Linked DNA regions of Homo sapiens: region 2 is linked to region 1. The links are contacts of gene promoters, found by promoter capture Hi-C in blood cells and fetal thymus (Javierre and others, 2016). All regions are on one chromosome and are shown on one strand. The core of a region is centred on a gene start or on the middle of the fragment in contact, and the rest is flanking DNA. Distances in the headings are between cores, read along the strand shown. Region 1 holds the start of NOG (noggin). Region 2 has its middle 65 kb from the start of NOG.

The links. The method cuts DNA at HindIII sites, captures the fragments that hold promoters and counts their contacts. A CHiCAGO score of 5 or more calls a contact.
Region 2: a contact is called between a fragment that was not itself captured here and the fragment with the promoter of NOG in region 1, in 1 of 17 cell types (naive CD4 T cells). The highest score is 5.2, in naive CD4 T cells.

What each region holds. Positions count from the first base shown.
Region 1 is chr17:56,590,391-56,596,159 of GRCh38, forward strand. NOG (noggin) reads left to right here and starts at 3,309. Exons shown (of 1, transcript NM_005450.6): 1 at 3,309-5,221. The coding sequence starts at 3,834. The coding sequence ends at 4,532. RefSeq lists silencers at 2,162-2,371, 5,484-5,684. The HindIII fragment of the contact is 13,259 bases long and covers 131-5,769 here.
Region 2 is chr17:56,655,965-56,661,733 of GRCh38, forward strand. No RefSeq gene overlaps it. Among named protein-coding and RNA genes, the nearest start is that of NOG, 65 kb to the left of the region's middle. The HindIII fragment of the contact is 5,498 bases long and covers 934-5,769 here.

The DNA.
Region 1 (5,769 bases), core at 2,059-4,558:
AAGCTCAGCTAAAATTCAGCTCTACCATTAAGGTCTTAGTACTTCCTAGTCTCTGATACCAACATCCCCAGGTTCACTCAGTACCTAAGCGCATGGGCTACTCCAGTGTGGCACAGAGTTAGGAGTTGCAAGCTTCCCAAATGTGGCATTTCAGAACTTCACATTGAAGAGGGGTAGATATGGTTTGAAAACAGTATAGCTAACATAATTGCTTGGGCTTCTTTTTGGTTATAATAATGTATTTTAAAAACTTTAAACAACATTCAAAGAAGAGCATGATATTGTTATATCTATCAAAAGGGGACATGGATTTTAAAAAGAAAAGGTTATAAAAAACTAGTCCACACTGTTATGGGAATTTATAAATTTTTCTGATGTCCTTTTACTATTTCTTCTTGTGGTTGTCATATCTCCCCTAACTGTACTACAAAAGTCTTGCAGGATGGAGACTGACTATGAATTTTTTCTTCTTTGTATTTTTCCTGATGGTCTTCACCCAGTAGATACTCCATAAACAGGTCACCCAATCTGTTCTCAAGCATGATTTGTTTCTGGTTCCTGAGGGACCTTTTTTGCTGTTCAGTCAAATCTGCTCAGCCCAACTAAATAAAGGATCTGGGTTGGTTTTCAAGCAAAAATAGGTGATTTGAAGGAGAGAAGAGGGGGATTAAAAGAACAGAAACCAGCATGATATAATGTCATTAATTGGAACCTACCATCTCAGGAGGGCTGAGCTAGAGTTTAGCCCTTGAACTCCACTAAATAATTTTCTTAGTTAATTCACATCAGTGACAAAATTGCTCTGGAACATGTAATCTTCATAAGGAAACAAACTAGTGCTGAATCCCCATAAAGCACATAAAAAAGAAAGAGGTATGCTTAGGAGCCTACTATGTGCTAGGTTCTTTTTTTGGAGGGGGAGGAGTTGGGGAGGTGGGAACAGAGTCTCACTCTGTTATTCAGGCTGGAGTACAGTGGTGCAATCTCAACTCACTGCAACCTTTGCCTCCCAGGTTCAAGTGATTCTCGTGCCTCGGCCTCCCAAGTACTTGGGATTACAGGAGCCTGCCACCACGCCCAGCTAATTTTTTTTTTTTTTTTTTTTTTTTGTATTTTTAGTAGAGACAGGGTTTCAGCATGTTGGGCAGGCTGGTTTCCAACTCCTGACCTCAAGTGATCCGCCTGCCTCAGCCTCCCAAAGTGCTGGTATTACAGGCATGAGCCACCGTGCCCGGCCTGTACCAGGTTCTAATCACACATTATTTCAAAGTCAGCCCAATTCAAACAACCAATGGGTTGTTGTTAACTCCAGTATCCATCAAAGCAAGATCTCCTTTTGAGCAGTCCCTTGATAGTCTAATTCTAGTTGTCTAGACTTTAAAATTGAGGGAAACGCTTTCAGCGGAAACTGCCCACCCCTTTTAATAGAGGTTTTGCAGAAAGACTGTAGTATGCAACAAAGTGTTTTCTTCCTTAGACAGATGATAAACTTTGGGAGTTGGGGTGGGGCAGGTTGAAAGGAAAAACCAGATCTTTGGGGAAAGAAAGTTAAGCGATTTAGGTTGTCACAATGGGACCTCTTAACTCCCACTCCATGGAAGACTGGCAAATACTTGAGTCATCCACTCCAAGTCTCTCTTCTCCAGCTTTTTCCAGATTCCAATCACATTCACCACAAAGAAAACTGAGTTTGCATTTTAAAGCTGAGATTGAGTTCCTCGTCCAAGGGGAAATTAACCGGAGGTGTCCCTTCAGTACCCATCTCCCATCAAAGAGAAACTGCTTCTGAACAAGAGAAAGCATCGTGGAGGTTTATTTAAAATCACAGAAAGGTAGGGCTGGAAGAGAAATCTATTAATAGTTACGTCACTAATGCGAAAAGTGAGAAAAATGACTTGTCCGAGTTATATCAGGGTGGACCCCGGGCAAGACTCAGGTGCCTCTGCTGTCAGCTCACCTTTCAAGTTTCTGGTCCCCACTCGCACCCACTGAGACCAGAGACCGATTTACCTGAGGCAGAAGGTGCTGCACGCATTCTTGTGAAATTTGAGGGGACCGAGAAGGAATCTCAGGAAGTTTGTTTACACTGGGGGCCTGGAGACCTTCGGGAAAATAGCCAGAACCAAAACGGACCAGTCAGCAGACGCAGACACACACAAAGTGACAGGGACACAGAAGCAGAAGCTGAACTGGGCAGAGCGGGCAGCGGCCGACCCACCTCGCACGGCCGCCCCCGCCAGCGCCAGGTGCAGGGCTCATAGCGGGCCAGCAGAGGGCGCGCCGCCCCCAGGGAGCCGAGCGGCGGCCGCGCGGAGCCGGGCGGGCTAGGGGAGCCGCAGGCGAGCCAGTCGCGCCCCTGAGGCTAGGCCACTCAGGGTGCAGGACCCGGCCAAGGAGGAGGAGGATGGTGAGGAGCGGAACCCCCTCGTGGGCCCGAGGGGCAGACAGACAGGAGTGCTTCCTAAGAATTACATCACGCTGCGCAACGCTGCGGCTCTCGGACTCCCTGGTGCAAAGGGGGGTGGGGTAGGGGCTGTGTGTGTGTGTGTGTGTGTGTGTGTATATATGTGTGTTGGGGGGAGGGGACTTAGAGCAAGAGCCCGGGAGAGAAGAAGACGCGCTCGGGGAAAACGCTCCATGCACATGGAGAAATTTCTTGCTCCGAACTGCATGCACCGAGAAACGAGCCCCCAGCACTTCCCCGCTGCTCCCCTCCCAGTGCAAAGCACCCAGCTAGTGAGAAACCCTCCAGCCCCACCTCAAGCACCGCCCCCCCTCCCCAAACACCGGCTCTGCACCCTCCAGCCCGGCTCCAGCGCCGCCGCGAGCTTTCCCCAGGACTGGCCCTGGCGGGGCGCCTAGAGCCCCAGTTGCATTGCTCCAGGAGAAAGGAGGGGGGCGGTGCATTTTGCAGGAGGAGGAGAAGGGGGGTGGGTGGTGGGGGAGAGAGAAAATTGCGCGGAGACCTGCCAAGCGCCACCGCCGCCGCCACCGCCGCTGCCGCCGCCGCCGCCGCCGCCTGTGAGCTCCGGCGGGCAGCCGGACTGTCGGCTTCCCGGGGCATCTGGGTCCGGCGGGGCACAGCCCTGGGCGCTGCCGAAGCCGCCGCCGCCGCCTCCGCGGCGAGTACAGGCGGCTTCCCCCGGAGCCTGTGCAGCTCCAGCTCCTCGGGGGTGGAGAAGTGGGGGGTGGGGTTGTTGTTTGGGGGGAAGAAGGGGGAGGGGGCAACGCCGAGAGAGTCAGTGGTTTCCATGGTGATGGAGCTGAAAGTGCAGGAAATTTAAAGGCTTGGACCCTGCGAGACAGACAAACCGGTGCCAACGTGCGCGGACGCCGCCGCCGCCGCCGCCGCTGGAGTCCGCCGGGCAGAGCCGGCCGCGGAGCCCGGAGCAGGCGGAGGGAAGTGCCCCTAGAACCAGCTCAGCCAGCGGCGCTTGCACAGAGCGGCCGGACGAAGAGCAGCGAGAGGAGGAGGGGAGAGCGGCTCGTCCACGCGCCCTGCGCCGCCGCCGGCCCGGGAAGGCAGCGAGGAGCCGGCGCCTCCCGCGCCCCGCGGTCGCCCTGGAGTAATTTCGGATGCCCAGCCGCGGCCGCCTTCCCCAGTAGACCCGGGAGAGGAGTTGCGGCCAACTTGTGTGCCTTTCTTCCGCCCCGGTGGGAGCCGGCGCTGCGCGAAGGGCTCTCCCGGCGGCTCATGCTGCCGGCCCTGCGCCTGCCCAGCCTCGGGTGAGCCGCCTCCGGAGAGACGGGGGAGCGCGGCGGCGCCGCGGGCTCGGCGTGCTCTCCTCCGGGGACGCGGGACGAAGCAGCAGCCCCGGGCGCGCGCCAGAGGCATGGAGCGCTGCCCCAGCCTAGGGGTCACCCTCTACGCCCTGGTGGTGGTCCTGGGGCTGCGGGCGACACCGGCCGGCGGCCAGCACTATCTCCACATCCGCCCGGCACCCAGCGACAACCTGCCCCTGGTGGACCTCATCGAACACCCAGACCCTATCTTTGACCCCAAGGAAAAGGATCTGAACGAGACGCTGCTGCGCTCGCTGCTCGGGGGCCACTACGACCCAGGCTTCATGGCCACCTCGCCCCCCGAGGACCGGCCCGGCGGGGGCGGGGGTGCAGCTGGGGGCGCGGAGGACCTGGCGGAGCTGGACCAGCTGCTGCGGCAGCGGCCGTCGGGGGCCATGCCGAGCGAGATCAAAGGGCTAGAGTTCTCCGAGGGCTTGGCCCAGGGCAAGAAGCAGCGCCTAAGCAAGAAGCTGCGGAGGAAGTTACAGATGTGGCTGTGGTCGCAGACATTCTGCCCCGTGCTGTACGCGTGGAACGACCTGGGCAGCCGCTTTTGGCCGCGCTACGTGAAGGTGGGCAGCTGCTTCAGTAAGCGCTCGTGCTCCGTGCCCGAGGGCATGGTGTGCAAGCCGTCCAAGTCCGTGCACCTCACGGTGCTGCGGTGGCGCTGTCAGCGGCGCGGGGGCCAGCGCTGCGGCTGGATTCCCATCCAGTACCCCATCATTTCCGAGTGCAAGTGCTCGTGCTAGAACTCGGGGGCCCCCTGCCCGCACCCGGACACTTGATCGATCCCCACCGACGCCCCCTGCACCGCCTCCAACCAGTTCCACCACCCTCTAGCGAGGGTTTTCAATGAACTTTTTTTTTTTTTTTTTTTTTTTTTTCTGGGCTACAGAGACCTAGCTTTCTGGTTCCTGTAATGCACTGTTTAACTGTGTAGGAATGTATATGTGTGTGTATATACGGTCCCAGTTTTAATTTACTTATTAAAAGGTCAGTATTATACGTTAAAAGTTACCGGCTTCTACTGTATTTTTAAAAAAAAGTAAGCAAAAGAAAAAAAAAAGAACAGAGAAAAGAGAGACTTATTCTGGTTGTTGCTAATAATGTTAACCTGCTATTTATATTCCAGTGCCCTTCGCATGGCGAAGCAGGGGGGAAAAGTTATTTTTTTCTTGAAGTACAAAGAGACGGGGGAACTTTTGTAGAGGACTTTTTAAAAGCTATTTTCCATTCTTCGGAAAGTGTTTTGGTTTTCCTTGGACCTCGAAGAAGCTATAGAGTTCAATGTTATTTTACAGTTATTGTAAATATAGAGAACAAATGGAATGACTAATCATTGTAAATTAAGAGTATCTGCTATTTATTCTTTATAATATCCCGTGTAGTAAATGAGAAAGAAGTGCAGAGCAGGATTAAAGAAAACCACTAAAACCGACTGCGCTCCACACTGATTTTCTGTGTTGGTGATTGATGGGGGTGGGAGGGCGTGGGAGGGGGCGGGTAGGGGATGCTGCTGTGCCTCCTACCCCGTTGGGGAAGGGGCTCATCCCCTCGGACTCCCCTCCTGTGGTATGATGGAGGTGACTTAGTTTTTTGAGGGCGTTGGGGGGGGGGGCGATATTCTCTAACCCCTCACTAAAACATCACGTGGCCTCCGCCTAGTCTCCTAGCTTTTCCCCCTATGTCACCAAAGCTCGGGCCTGTAGTGACCTCGACACCCAGCCGGCCCCCTGGAGCTGACCCCAGGCTGGGCCGAGGGGCGGGGGGAGGGTGGGCGGCCGCTTTGTCCTGCCTGACAGGCCCTTCACAATGGGGACACGTGTCTTTCACACCTACCCTGGGGGCGGAGTGCCGCTGAAACTTGACCCCCGAGGAATGGGGAGGGGGGGAGATCAGAGCGCGCCCACCCAGATCCCGCCACCCCTCCCGCCTCGTACCCCCCACCTCAATATCCAGCCCATGTTAACCCTTTGCATGCCCGGA
Region 2 (5,769 bases), core at 2,433-4,932, 66 kb after region 1:
ATGGTTTTGTTATGTCCAGGGATTCTCTCTAAGTCAGAAGTTTTTAAAGGACACATAGAGTAAATGACTCTTTTTCATGTCTCTAGGGTCTCAGCCGAAAAGATTCATGTTGGAGCTGACTTGAAGGCTGGCAGGTGGAATCATCTTAAAGCGTATCTGGTAGGTAATGCTGGCTGTAGACTGGGACTTCAGCAGTGGATGTCAGCAGGAACACCTACACATGGCCTTTCCATGTGGCTGCTTGGGCTTCCTCACATCATGGTGCCTGGATCCCAGGAGTTAGCCTTCCAAAAGAGCCAAGCCTTGAGTCACATGCCATCATTTCTGCTATAGTCACAACCCATCCATTTTATGCTGGGTCACAAGTGGTCTTTGGGCCACTGATACCACGAAGAGTGTTCTTCTCTCTTTTCACAGCTCCCACCCCCAGAGGACTGTGGAACTTATTTCATGGGAACCAGGCCAGAGTATCACTAGCACTCCCCAAACTTGTTCCTAAGTCATTTACACATCAAGTTATGACATCTTCTCCCACCAAACTGTTCCCATTCCCCACATCCAGTACAAAGTCTTAGGAGGACAAGGTAACCCTTTTTTATCACTATCTAAGAAGTCTTAGTCCAAAAGCTCATTATCAGCCCCAAAATGTTAAGGCACATAAGCCTTTCCCATTAAGACAAAACAAAACAAAGCAAAACCCTAGTAGACTCACCTGGCCACCCCTCTGGTGTATACCAGATATATATGAATTGGCTGAAGCCCAGGCCTGCACAAGTGAAGTCAAGTGAGGAGGAAAGTCTTTGAGGATGTGGCTACATAAAACCCTAAAGATGGCTTTAGTGCATAGCACCCTGGGAATCTCAAATTGGAAAGAAGTTGTTTGACATATAGAAGTAGGCCCCATTTGAAGAAAATCCAGTTGGCAATAATCCAAGCTTTTAACCACAAATTTTTTAAATGCAGGGGTGACTTCCTCACTTTCTATCAAAAATGATGCTTTTATTAAAGGAACTTCCTTGAAGGATTTAAGTGTTGGTTTATAAATTGGCAGCAACTAAGAGGCAGAAAAATATAAAACTAAGAATTGGGCTCACAGCCAATCAAGGACGAATCACAAATCAAGACTAACTTCTGAAGCTAAACACCCAGCATTGTGGAAGTGGGATTAGCTTTACACACATGCGCGTACGCTTTAAATGACAAACCGGGAACCCATTCATTATGTAAAGTCAAGCATTCCTATGATGTGGACCTGGCACTGCATCCCAGGCCTGCTGAGTAACATGAACAAATGCAAAGAAGCAGTAGGACAAGGACAGCATGTTTATGGAAAGTGGAGGGAATGAACATGCCTAGGGAAGAGACTCTTGTGTCAGGAAGCAGGTGAACATAAAGTTGGCCAGGTAGGGTGGGGCCACTTTTGCAGGCCAAGATGTTTTTCCTCCAAGAGGAGCATGATCAAAGAGGAGTTTTTGGAAGATTAATCTGGTAGAAGCACCTGAGGACAGTATTGAGACAGGGACAGCAGCTATGGAGTTTTCACAGCCATGAAGCTGTGAGGGGAAGAAGGAGGAGCTGGTGGTCTCTCTCCATGAGAAAGGCATAAAGGAAAATGGCACATGTATTCAGCCAGGCTCAGATTTTACTGCAAGCCTTTTCATCTTTGGAACAATGATATTTCTAAACTATTTCCTAAGAACCATCTTTTCTGGGACTCTAAGTCCCTCTTGAACTGTCTTTCCAGCTTCTAAAACTCCACATTCTTAGGAGAGGGAGTAAGGTGGGTTAAATCCAAGGTTGTTCAAGACATAGATGAAGATTAATGGGGACTAGTAATTATTTAAACAAACCTATGGGTCCTTAAGCCTCCAAGAACAGAGTCATCTTTCAAACCTGGACTCTAAGGAGGCCATGTTCCAATGACAAATAATCAAACAATCAAGTCTTCATATTTCTTTGGGGACTACCTTCAGAGTCTTCAATATATCCATTTTAAACATAGCCATATCATATTTTAACAATATTGCTGTTGTTGTTGTTTTAAGAAATAACCACAAGCCAAATCTGGTAGAGAAAGAGATAATCACTCAAGCTAGGTAATGGCCCTTTGGGTTAAAACAAACAAATAAACAAAACAGGTGGGACTTGGAAGAAATACATTGAGACAAAGTGAGTGAGAGTGTTTTCTTATCTTTATCATCTCTGCTATATGTGTAATGATATCTCATTCTTCATTCATATTATTTATCTGCACCTTTGCTCACTTCATCTTGACCAATATTGCTAGTTTGTCTTACTTTAAAGTCTTTTCAAAGATCTAACTTGGAGGTACAGGAAATTAAAAAGTAAAGAACAACAAAAAATGCAATTGATTTCCTTGTGCAATTGTAAACTGGCTGAGAAGAAAATTTCCCCAAAAAGAAGTTGTAAAAAAGATTTTGAGTAAGAGTAGTAGTTCAATTTGGCTAACACTAAATGAAGACTCTCTGCAAAGATGTCATTGTTTTCATCAACAGGACTCGGATGCAGGTAAAAAGTAACAAGAGTCACTGCCCTCAAGGAACCTATGAACTACTGAATGGCCTCCCATGTTGGCTACATTAACAGAAATGGCATTTATGAAGTGTCTAATTAATATTTTTCATTTCCTCTTATTGTGACAGAGACATTAAATTCTCACTAAATGGCCATGGGCTCTCCTACCTTTCCCAGGTTCCCTTGCAGTTGGATTAGAACCATGTGACCATTTCTGACCAATGGAACATGGGAGAAAGTGATGTATGCAACTTCCAAACCTAGTGCTATCAGCCCCTATGTAGTCCTCCAGCTTTCTCTTTCCATGCTGCAGTGATCACGTTATACGATGACCTGGTATAGCTGTAAGACAGGAACAGCCAAGACCCTGAGTCACCACCCGGAAGAGAGGTGCTCTAGAGATTCACTTGACTCACATGGGGATGTTGTACGATAGATATAAATCTTGATATGGTTAAACCACTGAGTTTTGGGCCTTTCTTTGTTACCACAACTGAGCTGATCTTATTCTGACATTCTTGCTAAAATTCCGAAATAACCATCATAATGATTGTCAACATAGTGTGGTGGAGAAATAAAAACCTTTAGAGCAGCAACAACCTGGGTGAAGGTAATGATGCTTAAAGGTGGCTCAGCTCATCAGTCATTTGCAGTTAACAAATCTTGGAAGAGACTAATCCTCTTCCTCCTGAGAGAACAGACTTATTGCTCCTGGAGACAGGGAAAGAGAAAAGATGGCCTATCTCAGTCTTCCGGTGGACAATCTGGGAGAGTCAGATCACAGACTGCCTGAATTTTTATGCAACAGGAGTGTACCCCTTCCACCCATATGCTCTAACATATCCAGAAAGGACTTCCAAGACAATTAACTTTCTTCCTTTAAAATTATTTCTTCCTTTAAAAAACAGATATATGAATATTATTTTCTCGTTACAATATATTTATATATTTTTTAGATCAAACCAAAGAGTTGAAGGGAAGTTCCTTCCACTTTCCTAGAATAACCACACTGGGCCACCTTTCTTTATTGTTCCAGGCTGTTCTTTGCATTTATATCCATATAAAGGTACATAGTTTTGCTTTGAGTCTTCAGTGTACTTTTGGTCCTGAGGCACAAATGGGCCAAACAGCAGGTACCATTCTGCCCTGTTGTTCTTTGACTTTATGACTTGTTTCTTTTCTGACTTTTGATGTATTTCAACATGTTTGGTCAACTTAATGCCTTTTTATTGCTGCACAGCTCTCCACAGTATGGAGGTACCATAATTTATGTAATGACTTCCCCATTGGTAGACATATATAGTGTTTTGAAACTGTAATGAACATGCTTGGAATGCCCCTTTGTGTACACAAGCCAGTATTTCTCTAGGATGGATACCTGAAAAGGAACTATCTGCTTCAAAGGATTTGCATATTTTTAGTTTCAATAGAAACTGCCAAATTGCTAAAGAAAGAAGCCATACCAACTTATACTTGCATCAACAATATATAGGTTCTGATCTTTTTTTTGTTAAGAAATGTTGATGACTTATAGATTGAAGAATTTTATATTAACAGACGTGCAATATTGGCTTATTATGAGGTTGCCTCGGCACTTGCCTGATTGCAGAGAAGGATGATCCTTTATTGCCTGCCAGTAGGTTTCACCATGGTGTTCATTAGCCACAGGCCCTGGCCCCTCCCAGGAAGACCTCTTTCAATATTGACAGGGGGGGATTTTTTGTTCCTTTAGTGAGCAGTGACCTCTAGCTGTTGTGCACTGCCTTTTTGAGAGTCACAATCCCCCGGCCAGACCACCCAGAATTGTAGGCGTAATAGCAGTGGTACGTTAGGACCAGGGGAAGACGAGGGAAGAGCTCACCTTGGGGATGCCAAAAATTCAATTATCAAGATAGATATGTAGGATCAAATGCAGTATTTTTGAAAATCAAAATTAATGCAAAAAGTCCACAATTTTAATACAAAATTTCAAATAGACAGGATTGGTATTAGTGATTTTTTCAGTGGCCTCAGGCTCCAGTAGGATTCTGCAATAGTCCAGAACAACAGTCATCTGTCATTTTAAGCAGATCTGGGAGACTCGTAGACAGACAGACAGACACACACACACACACACACACACACACACACACACTTCTTAAAATCCCTGCTTGCCTGTGTGGCCTTGGGGAAATTGCTGAACCTCTCTGAGACTCAGTTTCATTATTTGTGAGTTGTCAAGGAGTTTTCAATAAGCATCCCCCACCACCTGTACTAGTGCTTGTGCTATTGTTAGGCACCAATGCAACCCTACTGGCTGCTGGTTCTTCTATGATCCTTGAGCCTGGTTTGGCCTCTTACCTATTTCCTGGTGACCAAGTGACCCCTTTATAGACTGGAGATTGTTAATAGGAGGGAATGAATATTTACTGGGACTTTTTTTAAACTACACTGTGGGATGGGTACTTCCATGCATTATCTCAGTTAATCTGCATAGCAACCCTTCAGATATATAGATGAGAAAACTCAAGTTCAGAGAAGTTAAATGACTTGCCCTCAGTCACAGAGCAAGCCAGTGGCTGAGCGGGGCTCTGGAACCAGATCTTGTATATGTAAGTATATAGTCTAACGTTTACTTCTCTCTGGGCTGTGTCAGTAGAAGCAAGAGAAAAGAGCCTGCTACATCTGAATACAGACCTCAAGGGCAAATGCTCCCTCCCAACTGTGTATCCGAATTAAAAACAGCAAGTTTTGTTCCTGACTCAGCCCAAACCTACTACCTTCAGAGGTGCTTGTTTCTCTTGTCCAAACCCCAGGATGCCTGTGATTTCCTCTCCTAAAGCAGATGACCGTTGGCCCAGCCTCTCCTCACTGCCTCCCACCTCCCCAACCCCACACCACTCACTCCACCCAGATGACACCCCCTTATCCCTCCTGACATCAAGGTGGACAGTAAAACAACACAGTTCCATTTACCTTCACCCTAGCCCGCCCCCGGCTCAGTCACCCCACTCTCTGGGCCTTTCTGCCAAGCTCTCCAGGCAGCCACATGCACAAGAGAAGGCTGAGGGTGGGCCAGGCTGTGCAGAATGAGGGTTTTCAGAAGCGCTCTTGGCTCCTGCACTTAGAACCTTTGGAGACCTCTGGAGGTTCAGCAGCTACGTGCTCCTCTCTGCTTGGCCCAAAGGGGTGAAGGCCACCTGGCCATGCCAGGCCGGGCCACCATGGCGACATGGCCCCTGGGGAAGTGAGAGA